Regions from separate parts of the Homo sapiens genome. Here regions 1 and 3 are each linked to region 2. The links are contacts of gene promoters, found by promoter capture Hi-C in blood cells and fetal thymus (Javierre and others, 2016). All regions are on one chromosome and are shown on one strand. The core of a region is centred on a gene start or on the middle of the fragment in contact, and the rest is flanking DNA. Distances in the headings are between cores, read along the strand shown.

Evidence for each region. Contacts are between HindIII fragments. The CHiCAGO score rates a contact against its expected background, and 5 or more counts as called.
Region 1: a contact is called between a fragment that was not itself captured here and the fragment with the promoter of LSM10 in region 2, in 1 of 17 cell types (neutrophils). The highest score is 5.5, in neutrophils.
Region 3: a contact is called between a fragment that was not itself captured here and the fragment with the promoter of LSM10 in region 2, in 1 of 17 cell types (neutrophils). The highest score is 5.2, in neutrophils.

Annotation. Positions count from the first base shown.
Region 1 is chr1:36,167,423-36,171,604 of GRCh38, reverse strand. It overlaps MAP7D1 (MAP7 domain containing 1), which reads right to left. Exons shown (of 17, transcript NM_001388490.1): 2 at 290-634; 3 at 24-92. Among named protein-coding and RNA genes, the nearest start is that of MAP7D1, 13 kb to the right of the region's middle. The HindIII fragment of the contact is 824 bases long and covers 1,077-1,900 here.
Region 2 is chr1:36,396,245-36,400,697 of GRCh38, reverse strand. It overlaps LSM10 (LSM10, U7 small nuclear RNA associated), which reads left to right and starts at 2,790. Exons shown (of 2, transcript NM_032881.3): 1 at 2,790-2,931. RefSeq lists enhancers at 1-503, 2,221-2,932, 2,933-3,645. The HindIII fragment of the contact is 5,014 bases long and covers 2,398-4,453 here.
Region 3 is chr1:36,239,409-36,243,309 of GRCh38, reverse strand. All of the region lies in intron 1 of THRAP3 (thyroid hormone receptor associated protein 3), which reads right to left. It also overlaps the pseudogene UBE2V2P4. Among named protein-coding and RNA genes, the nearest start is that of THRAP3, 17 kb to the right of the region's middle. The HindIII fragment of the contact is 4,351 bases long and covers 419-3,901 here.

The sequences.
Region 1 (4,182 bases), core at 239-2,738, 230 kb after region 2:
GATGAGGCTTCCTGCTCACTCACCCAGGTACTTGGCCCGCTCTTCTCGCCGCTCCTTTGCCAGCTTGTGTCTCTCTCCTGCCTTCTTCACCTCTGAGCAGAGGGAACAAGAACAGACAGGTCAAAAGGCTGTCCCCAAAGAGGAGTCAGCCTCAGATCCCTCCCTCCGGGCCTCACCCCATCCTTTCTTTATCTCCTCTAGGGCAAACAGGACTCTTTCAGTTGGCATGATCCAGGGCCAGGACCCTGAGCCAAGAGGTTTAGGCCCAGGCCGGGGTCATTACACACACCTTGCTTGGTGGGAGGGCTGTCGGAGGCTGGCACTGCTGTTGGAGATGGCTGGCTGCTCCTTCGAGGAGGTCTGGCATCCCGTGGGCCCATGGCTGGTGGGGTGGGTCCTCTGCTCTTTGCTTCAGAGGAAGGGGACTCTTCCTGCGGGGGGGCTGGCCTAGGCCCGACCTGCCCTGAGGGGCTCTCTGGTTCCAGTGGGAGCTGCTTAGAGCTAGTGGCATTCTTCATGGCAGGAGGGGTGTCCGGGGGAGTGTCGGGGACCAGGGCTGACATTGGTGGTGGTGGGGGGGAAGGGTCACCTTCTGGAGAAGGTCTTGGCTCTGGGGGGGTCCTGGCGACCACAGCTGAAAGACCAACACAAGAGAGGAGAGAGGTCAGATTGCTCATCTGTGCCATCAGCCCCATATGTGGCCCTCTCCCTTGTTCAACCGACTTCTTCATTCACTTATGTTTGAGTTATTTCTATGTGCCGGGCCCTGTTCCAGATACTCATGATATAATGGTGAGAAAATAGCCATGATCCCTGCCTCTGTGGCGCTTACCCTCTAGCAGGGCAGACAGACAAATAGCTAGGCAACTACAGTAGAGAATAAATACTATGTCTGGGGCAGCAAAGCAGAGATAGTTAACCTATATGGGGAGGGCTTGCTGAAGAAGTAACAACCAAGCTGAGATCCGAAGGATAAGCTGGAGTCAGCAAAGCAAGGAGGAGAGGTGTTGGCAGAGAAGAGTATATGCGAAGGGGCAGAATGGAGCAGGGTGTGTTGGAAAAGCTGAGAACAAGCTTGTAGCACTTATTCGTGCACCAAATGCACTGATTGTTTCCATGTCTGCCTCCCTCTCCTTTCTGCTTTACTTCTGGGTGACTGTGCCCAACCCAAGGTCTGTTCACAGAGGGTGCCAGTGCTGGGCACATGGGACTGACCAAGAGGAAGGACGTAAGTATGGGCTCTAGTGGAATGCTTTGCTGTGAAGATTCCATTGGCAACAAGCTACGTCCACTTTATAATCTTTTTTCCCCAAGCCACACCGAAATTTCTGCTTTTAAGACATGACTATTGTAGGAATCCTGTAAAAGACATCGAAGTGAAGTAAGGGAGCCACACGATTTGACATATACACATGTGGGGCAATTGAGAGACAGGCTTCAGAGTCAGTCAGATGAGGAAGATGGGAAGAGAGGGCTTGTTTCCCCAGCAGACAACCATGGACAAGCCAGTCAACCTCTCTCAGCCTCAGGTTTTTTTGTTTTGTTTTGTTTTGTTTCCCCCCAAGTCTACTTGCTGCTAGTGAATTTTTCAAGGGTCTAGTTAGTTCCTTTAAGTCTCTTTTTTTAAATTTTTATTTTTTAAGAGATAGGGTCTTGCTATGTGGCCCAGGCTGGATTCAAACTCCTGAGTTCAAGAGATCCTTCTGCCTCAGTCTCCCAAGTAGCTGGGATTACAGGCCCATGCCTGGCTCAGCCTCAGTTTTGATACCTGTAAAATGGGGATAACAAGCCCAAGCTAGTAGGGAATGTCAGCAAGGTGCCTGGCACTATCCACATGCCAGCCAGCAAACAGCACTCCCTGTTGGTCTTATGAAGCCTCCTGGTCTCCCAAACAGAAGCTTCTGTATGTTGAGCCCTGGTGCCATCTGCTGCTACCATCCAGGCACTGAGGAGATCAATGGGAACACAGCTACCAACTTGCTTAGGGAGCAGGGCCGGCATCTGTGGGAAGCTTCATCTAAGGAAACATTTTTCTTTTTTTTTTTTTTTGAGACGGAGTCTCGCTCTGTCACCCCGGCTGGAGTGCAGTGGCGCAATCTGGGCTCACCGCAAGCTCCGCCTCCTGGGTTCACCCCATTCTCCTGCCTCAGCTTCCCGAGTAACTGGGACTACAGGCGCCCGCCACCACGCCTGGCTAATTTTTTGTATTTTTAGTAGAGACGGGGTTTCACGGTGTTAGCCAGGATGGTCTCAATTTCCTGACCTCATGATCCGCCCGCCTCAGCCTCCCGAAGTGCTGGGATTACAGGCGTGAGCCACTGCCCACCGCGCCCGGCCTTTTTTTTTTTTTTTCAAGACAGAGCCTTGCTCTGTTGCCCAGGCTGGAGTGCATTGGCACGATCTCGGCTCACTGCAACCTCTGCCTTCCAAGTTCAAGTGATTATCCTGCCTCAGCCTCCCAAGTAGCTGGGATTACAGGCACCTGCCACCACGCCCAGCTAATTTTTGTATTTTTAGTAGAGACGGCGTTTCACCATGTTGGCCAGGCTGGTCTCGAACTCCCGACTTCAGGTGGTCTGCCCGTCTCGACCTCCCAAAGTGCTGGGATTACAGGCATGAGCCACTGCACCCGGCCTTATATGTTATTAGTTTTAATCCTCACTGACAATAGTTATGAAGGAGTCCTCATATAGATGAGGACAGTAAAGTAAAAAAAGATGAAGCAAAAAAAAGAGGTAATTTGAGATCATTCAGCTGGTCAGTCAGGGAGCCTGGACTTGGACCCAGTAGCCATCATCAGAGCCTGTCCTTACCCATTATACCCTCCTGCCTTGTTGAAGGCAATATGAGGGAATAGGTGTTACGCAATAAATTATCTGAGGCTCACACTATTTTCCGCCTCATTCCTTCCCATCCAGCTTGCTAGGATCCAGGCAAGAGCCCCAGCTGAGGCCCTGTCTTCCCCATTACCCCTCCAACTCCACCAACTCCACCAACTCCTAGGCTACATGACAAGCCACCCATCTCTTCCCATACCAGCAGGAGACGGCTGCCTGGTCACTGCTAATCTATTTCCCAGCCAACTGCAAACTCCTTTACCAATTCCAGTAGTCAACAAAACCAGTTACTCACTCTAGTGAGTGCTTACTACTCACTAACAGTGGTGCACCCTGTGTCCTCGCAATTCTGAGAGGCAGAGATTCTTATCCCCATTATACAAGTGTGGCAACCAAGGCCCAACCTGCAAAGTGATCCACACAGAGTCATAGAACTAGTATGTGGCAGAGTTGGGCTTTTTTTTTTTTTTTCCTGAGATGGAGTCTCACTCTGTTGCCAGGCTGGAGTGCAGTGGTGCGATCTCGGCTCACTGCAACCTCTGCCTCCCAGGTTCAAGCAATTCTCCTGCCTCAGCCTCCAGAGTAGCTGGGACAACAGGCAGGCACCACCACACCCAGCTAATTTTTGTATTTTTAGTAGAGACGGGGTTTCACCATGTTGGCCAGGCTGGTCTCCATCTCTTGACCTCGTGATCCGCCCTCCTCAGCCTCCCAAAGTGCTGGGATTACAGGCGTGAGCCACCGCACCCAGCCTAGAGTTGGGATTTGAACTCAGGACTGTCTGAAGCCAAAGCCTGGGTGTGTAAGTATTAAGCTTGAAGGTTGAGGGTGAGGTCTGTTTATTGCCATTCTCCAAGCACCTGTGCGTGCTGCAGGTGTTGCAAGGAAAACTGGTAGGCGGGTGTTTGTCTACACCTAGGCAAATCACACCCACCAGGCAAGACAGTCAGTGAGTCCCCAGCAAGGTCCTGACTCGCTATGTGAAAGGAGGCTGGGAGGAGGTAGAGGAGTGAGGCTTGGAAGAACCTGCACCCAGGCATCAGATGCAGTGGAGCAGAAAGGTCACAGGCTTCAGAGTCTGACAGGCCTGACTGAGGACCTCGGCTCCCGGCGAACCTCGGGCAAGCCCTGAGCCTGTGTAACCACAGTTCCCTCATGGAGTTGTTGGCACACATGGGGAGTTGGTACAGACGGGTACATCATCGGTGGCACCTGGCAGGGGCTTGGTAAGCAGCACCTGCCCCGAAGAATATATCCACGTCTCCTCATCTCTGCCAGGAGGAAATGCTTCAGCCAGGCCTTACCCCCACTGCTCTGCAACATTGCACTTCTCAAGGACACCCGT
Region 2 (4,453 bases), core at 1,541-4,040:
ATCCGAGCCCGTAGTGCAAGCTGAGCCCAGCCTGCCAGACTGAGCAGGCAGAACGAGCCCAGCAGGCACAAGCAAAAGTCAAGCACAGGCGCTGCTAGCCACAGAGGTTTCCAGATGGCAGAGTGACACCCTAAGGTTCTTGTGACAGCTGGGACTATAGGTGCACCCATTACACCCAGCTAAATTTTTTTTTTTTTTTTGAGACGGAGTCTCGCTCTGTCGCCCAGGCCGGAGTGCAGTGGCGCGATCTCAGCTCACTGCAAGCTCGGCCTCCCAGGTTCACGCCATTCTCCTGCCTCAGCCTCCCGAGTAGCTGGGACTACAGACGCCCGCCGCCACGTCCAGCTAATTTTTTGTATTTTTAGTAGAGACAGGGTTTCACCATGTTAGCCAGGATGGTCTCCATCTCCTGACCTCGTGATCCGCCCGCCTCGGCCTCCCAAAGTGCTGGGATTACAGGCGTGAGCCACCGCGCCCGGCCACACCCAGCTAATTTCTTAAAACATTTTTGGCCGGGCTCGGTGGCTCACGCCTGTAATCCCAGCACTTTGGGAGGCCGAGGTGGGCAGATCACCTGAGGTAGGGAGTTCGACACCAGCCTGACCGACATGGAGAAACCCCGTCACTACTAAAAATACAAAAATTAGCCGGGTGTGGTGGTGCACACCTGTAATCCCAGCTACTTGGGAGGCTGAGGCAGGAGAATTGCTTCAACCCGGGAGGCGGAGGTTGTAAGCCGAGATCAGGCCATTGCACTCCAGCCTGGGCAACAAGAGTGAAACTCCATCTCAAAAACAAAAAAAAATTTAGAGATGGGGTCTCACTATGTTGCCCAGGCTGGTCTCAAACTCCTGAGCTTAAACAGTCCTCTTGCCTTGGCCTCCCAAAGTGTTGGGATTACAGGTGTGAGCCACCACCCCCAGCCAAGAAGCCTAATTTACTGAGCTTCTTCTCTGTGCCAGATGCTTTCACACATTAATGAAGGTCACTTAAATCTTACAGTTCTCTGAGAAAGGCCTAATTTTTTGTTTTCATAACAAGCAAATTGAGGCTGAGGAAGAAAGTAATTTTTCCAAGGCTATACAGAGTGACTTTTAAAAAATGTAAATCAGGTGGGGCACAGTGGCGTGTGCCTGTAGTCCCAGCTATTCTTGAGGCTTGGGTAGGAGGATCACTTGAGCCCAGGTAGTTGAGGCTGCAGTGAGCTATGATCACACCACTGCACTCCAGCCTGGATGACAGGGTGAGAACCTGTCTCTACAAGTAAATCAAATCACTTCGCTCCCTTTCAATAGCCTGTCATAGCACTTCTAGTACTAGATGAGAAGACTGAGGCACAGAGAAGATACTAACTTGCCCAAAGTCACAATTAGCCAGGAGTAGATTTGAACCTAGGCACTGTATCCGGAGGCTGCACTCCTAACCATGAAATCTAAACTCCTTACCTTGGCTCACAAAGCCCTATATGCTCTGGTTCCTGCTTCCTCTCTGGCCTCTTGTTATACCACTCTCCCCAGCTTCCCTGGCCTTTCCTGTGTTCCTAAATTGTCAAGGTCATTTCCCCCAGGTTCTTTGCATGAACTGTGAAAAGAAAAAATTTAACTTTTAATTGGTGATTTGACTTTTTTTTGCCAAATTTGTTAAATCTGACTTTTATTTGCAACTCTAGAATCGGGCAACACTTCATTCTATAAAATGGAATGAGTGTTCAAATGAGCTGAGCAGAGGAGATTGGTTTTACAGCCAGAAAAGGGCTGAGGAAAGCAGAAACAGAAAACAAAAAGATTGGTTGTTTCAAAGTTACTTTCCTTGTAACTTTGAAGGCTAAAGCAGAGGGGACTTCCTTATCCTGCCAGCTAAAACAGGATGGTTTGGAGATCTAGCTATCTCTCACTCTTCTGATTTATCGGAATATCAGATAAACAACTTAGTTTCCACTTGGTGATGTAGAACTTTAGCATGAGTGACTCCATTTTGGTTCTGTTGGGCTTGGTGCAGGAGCCCTGTTCAAACCAATGGCCTCCAATTTTTTTTTTTTTTTGAGACGGAGTCTTGCTCTGTTGCCCAGGCTGGAATGAAGTGTTACTTTCTGAGCTCACTGCAGCCTCCACTTCCTGGATTCAAGCAATTCTCCTGCCTCAGCCTCCCAAGTAGGTGGGACCAGAGGTGTACGCCACCACGGTGGGCTAATTTTTTCTATTTTTTGTAGAGACAGGGTCTCCCCATTGTTGCCCAGACTGGTCTCGAACTCCTGGGCTCCAGTGATCCTTCCGCCTTGTCCTCCAAAGTGCTGGGATTACAGGTGTGGGCCTCTGCACCCGGCCCTGCCTCCTATAAATTTTACTTAACAAACTGTTCCCGCTAATTGCAATGCTCCTCCCATAGTTTTCACAAGCTTGGCTTCATGTCACTAATCTCAACTCAAATGTCACCTTCTCAGGGCACCCCTGACAATCCAATAAAAGACCACCTTGTCACCATCACATCACACCTTTAATCTTCTGAAGAAATTTTTCCCTATTTTTCTTCTTTGTTTTCTTAAGACTCTCTCCCCTGCAGCGCCATCAGCTCAGGGAGCCACTTGATCTTGGTCACTGCTCCATGCCGGAGCCTGGGAAGGAGCCTGGCCCAGGTCGCCGGTTCAATGAATGCGTGCGGAATGAATGAACGACTCTAGTGAAAGAGACTCCAATGACGCAGGCCGGGATTTGCGGAGCACGAGCCCCGCGCCGCGAAGCATTCTGGGGATTGTAGTTTCTCCGTGACGCGGTGACTTGCAGAGCACTGACGCACTCTGCGCCCGGAGGACAGAGCGGCCCGGTCGCCGGCATGGTTTCTCCGTCCTGCTGCAGCCGGCGGGAGGCAGCCAGTCCAGGCGCCCGCTAGCTTCGGCGGCGACCCAGACGGGGAAAGCGGAAGGAATGTCGCGTGGTGGGTCCGGGTCGGCGGTGCAGGGAGCCCCGGGGCGGAATGCGGGGGATGCCAGGACCTCCGGAAGGAGGTGCCGGAGCCCAGGAAGCGTTTTCTTCCCCATTTACCGAGTATAGCTCCTTTCCCCAGACCCGCTCCCGCTGCTCTGAGTAAGCGGTGCTCATCCCGTTTTACCGGTAGCTTAGCTAGCTTGGAGAAGCTAAGTGGTTTGCTAAGTGATCGCCCTCCTAGGAGGTGGCAAAGCCTGTTCTAGAACCCGGGCCTGACTCGAGGTCCGGTGACTGCTCTTTGCAGTCGCAGCAGCAGCCCCATACCTTTGCTTGATCGCAGATTCATCAGGCTGCAGCCGGGTGGCTGGTCGTTAGGCCATGCCCAGGGACCTAGCTCCCAGGCCCCCTCGTCACTGGCCTAGTCTGGCTTGCCACGCTCAGTGCCACAATGCACAGCCCTGGACGGGATGCTGAGTGAGGTCGTAAAGAGAGAGCGTTCCACCCCCTTTAACTCAGGTCTGAAAATAAGGGATAGGTAAGACATAGTGCACTAATACATTATCAGGGCATGTTGAAATCAAAGGAGAGTACCTTTAGTGGAGTGTGATTCTGGTAGCTTTGTTTCTCCTGTAGTTTAATAAATGTGGAAACAGGTTCAGAGACATTAACTTTTCTAGGTTTTCATAATTAGGGGTGGAGTGGGGATTCCAACCTAGGTTTCTCTACCTTCAAAACCTATGTACCTTATATAATACCGGTTGGGGGTTTTTTTCCCCAATTCATTATCCAGATTTATTTTCTTTTTTTTTTTCTGAGAGTCTCGCTGTGTCACCCAGGCTGGTGTGCAGTGGCACAATCTTGGCTCACTGTAACCTCTGCCTCCTGGGTTCAAGCGATTCTCCTGCTTCAGCCTCCCAAGTAGCTGAGATTACAGGTGCGCCCATGCCCAGGTAATTTTTGTATTTTTGGTAGATACTGGGTTTCACCATGTTGGCCAGGCGGGTCTTGAACTCCTGACCTCAGGTGATCCACTCGCCTTGGCCTCCCAAAATCCTGGGATTACAGGCGTGAGCCCTTGCACCCGGCCTCATTACCTTAATTTCTACTTACATAACAGCTGCATGGTGTAGACCAATAGTTCCCAGAGTGTGGGCCCCTGACCAGCAGCATCAGCATCACCTGGGAACATGTTCAAAATGACTTTATCTCTGGGCCTCACCTCAGACCTGAGTCAAACTGGGAGTGGGGCCCAGCAAGCTGAGTTAACAAGCCCCTCAGATGATTCTGATACACACTAATGTTTGAGAACTACTGGTGTCAACCAATGATTCTCAAACCTTAACGTGTATCTAATTCACGTAGGGGGTCATGTTAAAATGCAGTCTGTTTCCAGCCAGCGTGGAAGATGGCAGTGAGCCACTCAGTGAAGGAGTGGATTTTATCTCAGAACAGGCTTGGGGAGAGACCTGAGATTGCGCATTTCTAACCAGTACCCCTCAGCACTTTGGAGTTATCTGGGGAGCTTTCTTTTT
Region 3 (3,901 bases), core at 1,345-3,844, 160 kb after region 2:
TTGTTCACTTGTTTATCTGCTGACCTTCCCTCCACTATTGTCCTGTGACCCTGCCAAATCCCCCTCTGCAAGAAACACCCAAGAATGATCAATAAAAATAAAAAAATAAAAAGAAACCCTCATTTGGGCTCAGAGCAAAAAAAAAAAAAAAAAAAAAAGAAAGTTCCTCACAAAATGCATCTTATTCCCAAACCACTTATAAGCAACATTAGCAGCTTGCCACAATCAGCATTCTATTTTTGTTTTTAGAGATGGGGTCTTACTGTCACCCAGGCTGGAATGCAGTGGCATGATCATAGCAATCCTCCTGCCTCAGCCTCCCAAAGTGGTGGGATTACATGTGCAAGCCACCATGCCCAGTCTATCTCAAAATAAAATAAAATAAGCAATTAAAAAAAAACACTAACTGTGAAAAGCTTTAAAATTTTTAGAAGAAAACAGAAGAGAATATCTGTATGAATTCAGGGTGAGGAAGGATTTCAAACAAAATTCTATAAGTACAAACCATAAAGGTAAAGACTGACAAATCTATCTATATGCCTTAGAAAATCAAAACAGAGGGTGGGCGTGGTGGCTCACGCCTGTAATCCCAGCACTTTGGGAGGGCGAGGCAGGCGGATCACAGGTCAGGAGATCCAGACCATCCTGGCTAACACAGTGAAACCCCGTCTCTACTAAAAATACAAAAAATTAGCCGAGCGTGGTGGCTGGCGCCTGTAGTCCCAGCTACTTAGGAGGCCGAGACAGGAGAATGGCGTGAACCCATGAGGCAGAGCTTGCAGTGAGCGGAGATCGCGTCTCTGCACTCCAGCCTGGGCGACAGAGCAAGACTCCATCTCAAAAAAAAAAAAAAAAAAAATCAAAACAGACGGCTCGCACCTGTAATCCCAGCACTTTGAGAGACTAAGCTGGGAAGCTCACTTCAGCCCAGGAGTTCAAGATCAACCTGGGCAACATGGCAAGACCTGGTCTCTACAAAATATAAAGAAAATTAGCCAGGCATCATGGCGCACACCTGTGGTCCCAGCTACTCTGGAGGCTGAGGCAGGAGGATCATTTCGGCCCAGGAGTTCGTATGTTCGTGCCACTGTACTCCAGCCTGTGGGACAGTGAGACCTTGTCTCAAAAAACAAATAAATGAACAAACAAAAAAATGAAAGCAGAATATATAACCTGAAGTAGAATGTAGACCTAAATACCCAGAAGCTCCATCAGTTAGGTTTATAACAAAAATTATTATGAATGGAAAAATTAATTCCAGCGGGACTGTGGATGCATGGAGCATACCAGTGTTAGCAAAATGGCAAAATCCATACAACATTAAAGTTCTACTTACTTCAAGAGCTAAGACATCTAATGACATCCAAAGAAAATAAGTAGCTTCCACAGCCACCAGAAGTAAAACCATGACAATTAATTTTAGCAGATCTTGGCCGGGCATGGTGGCTCACACCTGTAATCCCAACACTTTGGGAGGCCGAGGTGGGTGGATCACCTGAGGTCAGGAGTTCGAGGCCAGCCTGACTAATGTGGTGAAACTCCATCTCTAAGAAAAATACAAAAATTAGCCAGGCATGGTGGTGGGTGCCTGTAGTCCTAGCTACTCTGGAGGCTGAGGCAGGAGAACTGCTTGAACCCAGGAGGTGGAGATTGCAGTGAGCCAAGATCACGCCACTGCACTCCAGCCTGGGCAACAGAGCAAGACTCTGTCTGAAAAAAAAAAAAAAAAAAATTTTAGCGGATCTTAAACTTCAGTCAACCTTCTACTCATGTTAATGTCTTAATTAAATATCACAATGCAAAATACTCACACATTAAGAATTTCTGCTGGTAAACATGACCTGGACATTTGTAAGAATATATATTTATTTATATATGTGTATATATATATATATATATATATATATATATATATATATATATACACCCATTATCATTTCAGATAATGGGAAGAAAAATACAGCACAATTTTTTTTCTCATTAGGGCACTGTCATTTAAACATAAACCTGAAGTACTCTAAAGAGAATTCAGGTTTACAAAAACAAGTGTGGTGAGAGGTGTCAGGTGTCAGCGGCACGTATTTCTGAAAAGTAAAAATCTTTTTTTTTTTTTTTTTGAAACGGAGTCTTGCACTGTCGCCCAGGCCCGATCTCGGCTCACTGCAAGCTCCGCCTCCTGGGTTCACGCCATTCTCCTGCCTCAGCCTCCCAAGTAGCTGGGACTACAGGCACCTGCCACCACGCCCGGATAATTTTTTTGTATTTTTAGTAGAGACGGGGTTTCACCGTGTTAGCCGGGATGGTCCCGATCTCCTGACCTCGTGATCCGCCCACCTCAGCCTCCCAAAGTGCTGGGATTACAGGCGTGAGCCACTGCGCCCGGCCGAAAAGTAAAAATCTTAAGAAGGAAAAAACAGAAATGGCACACTTTACCTATTTTGCTTAGTGAAAAACTGCAGCCAAAATTGTTTAAAGTAGCAGGTAAAATAAATATTATCACAAATTATGTTAATTTTTGAAGCGGTGCAGGTGCTGACTTCTAGAAGTATCCAAAATATACACAAGAAAAAAAAAATCCAAAATATGTCCAGGATTATTTTGATACCTATATTTATACCAAAAAAAATGTTAAGGGCTGTGATGGTTAATATTAGGTGTCAACTTGACTGGACAGAGGAATAGCTATATGGCTGAGGCAATGTTCCTGGGTACGTCTGTGAGGGTGTTGCCAGAGAAGACTGACATGTGAGTGAGTGGACTGTGAGAGGAACCAGCCCACATGTCCAGCTGGACTCTCAATGTGGGTGGGACACCATTCAATCAGCTTTAAGCACAGCTAAACAATGGGGATAAGTAGATTGCTTGCTGAGTCTGCTCTCTCTCTCATGCTGTGACAGATGCCTGGCTTCCTCTCCTCCTGCCCTTAGACATCAGACTCCAGGTTCTTCAGCCTTTGGACTCTAGGACTTGCACTAGAGGCCTCCCAGGGGCTCTCGGGCCCTTTCACCTCAAACTAAGGGCTGCACTGTTGGCTTCCCTGGTTTTGAGGCTTTTAGACTTGGACTGAGCCACGTGACCAGCTTCTCTCTTTCCCCAGCTTGCAGACAGCCTATCATGGAACTTCACCCTGTAACTGTGAGAGCCAATTCTTCCTAATAAACTCACTTTTATTTATACATATACCCTTTGGTTCTGTCCCTCTGGAGAACCTTAATGTAGGGGGGTTGATGAATTTCTGTTACAAGCTGTTCTTATGTGTTACATGTAACAGACATGGTAAATATTTATATTCTTTGTGTAACAAACCATGCCTTTACGTGAAGTCAACTAAAAAACAAACACATAGGGATATGTCATTCTGAGCTCAAGGTTTATCTTAAAATGTAAATAAATTGTGAAATGTAGCCACAAAAACAAATGATTAAGATGATAAAATTTTATGTTATACATATTTTACCACGAAAAAAGTAAAATGAGTTGATTAGTGGAAAGAAGTGACAAAGCAATTAAGCAAATGCTAACAAATGTAAAATCTAGGTGATGGACATATAGGTCTCACTGTACTGTACAATTGTTTCAACTTTTTTGTATGCTTGAAATCTTTCCTAATAAAATGTTGGAGGAAAACAGAAATCAAAGATATTGCCATCCCTGCTAGAATACACTTGATACAGAGTGATTAACCTACCCAGAACCAGGGAAACAAAGGCCTTACAGGGATGATGAAATGTAAAAGCCAGTTTGGCCAGGTAAGGTGGCTCATGCCTGTAACCCCAGCAATTTAGGAGGCCGAGGTGAGAGGATTACTTGAGCACAGGCATTAAAGACCAATCTGGGCAACATGGTGAAACCTCGTCTCTACTAAAAACACAAAAATTAGCTGGCCATGGTGGCGCAAACC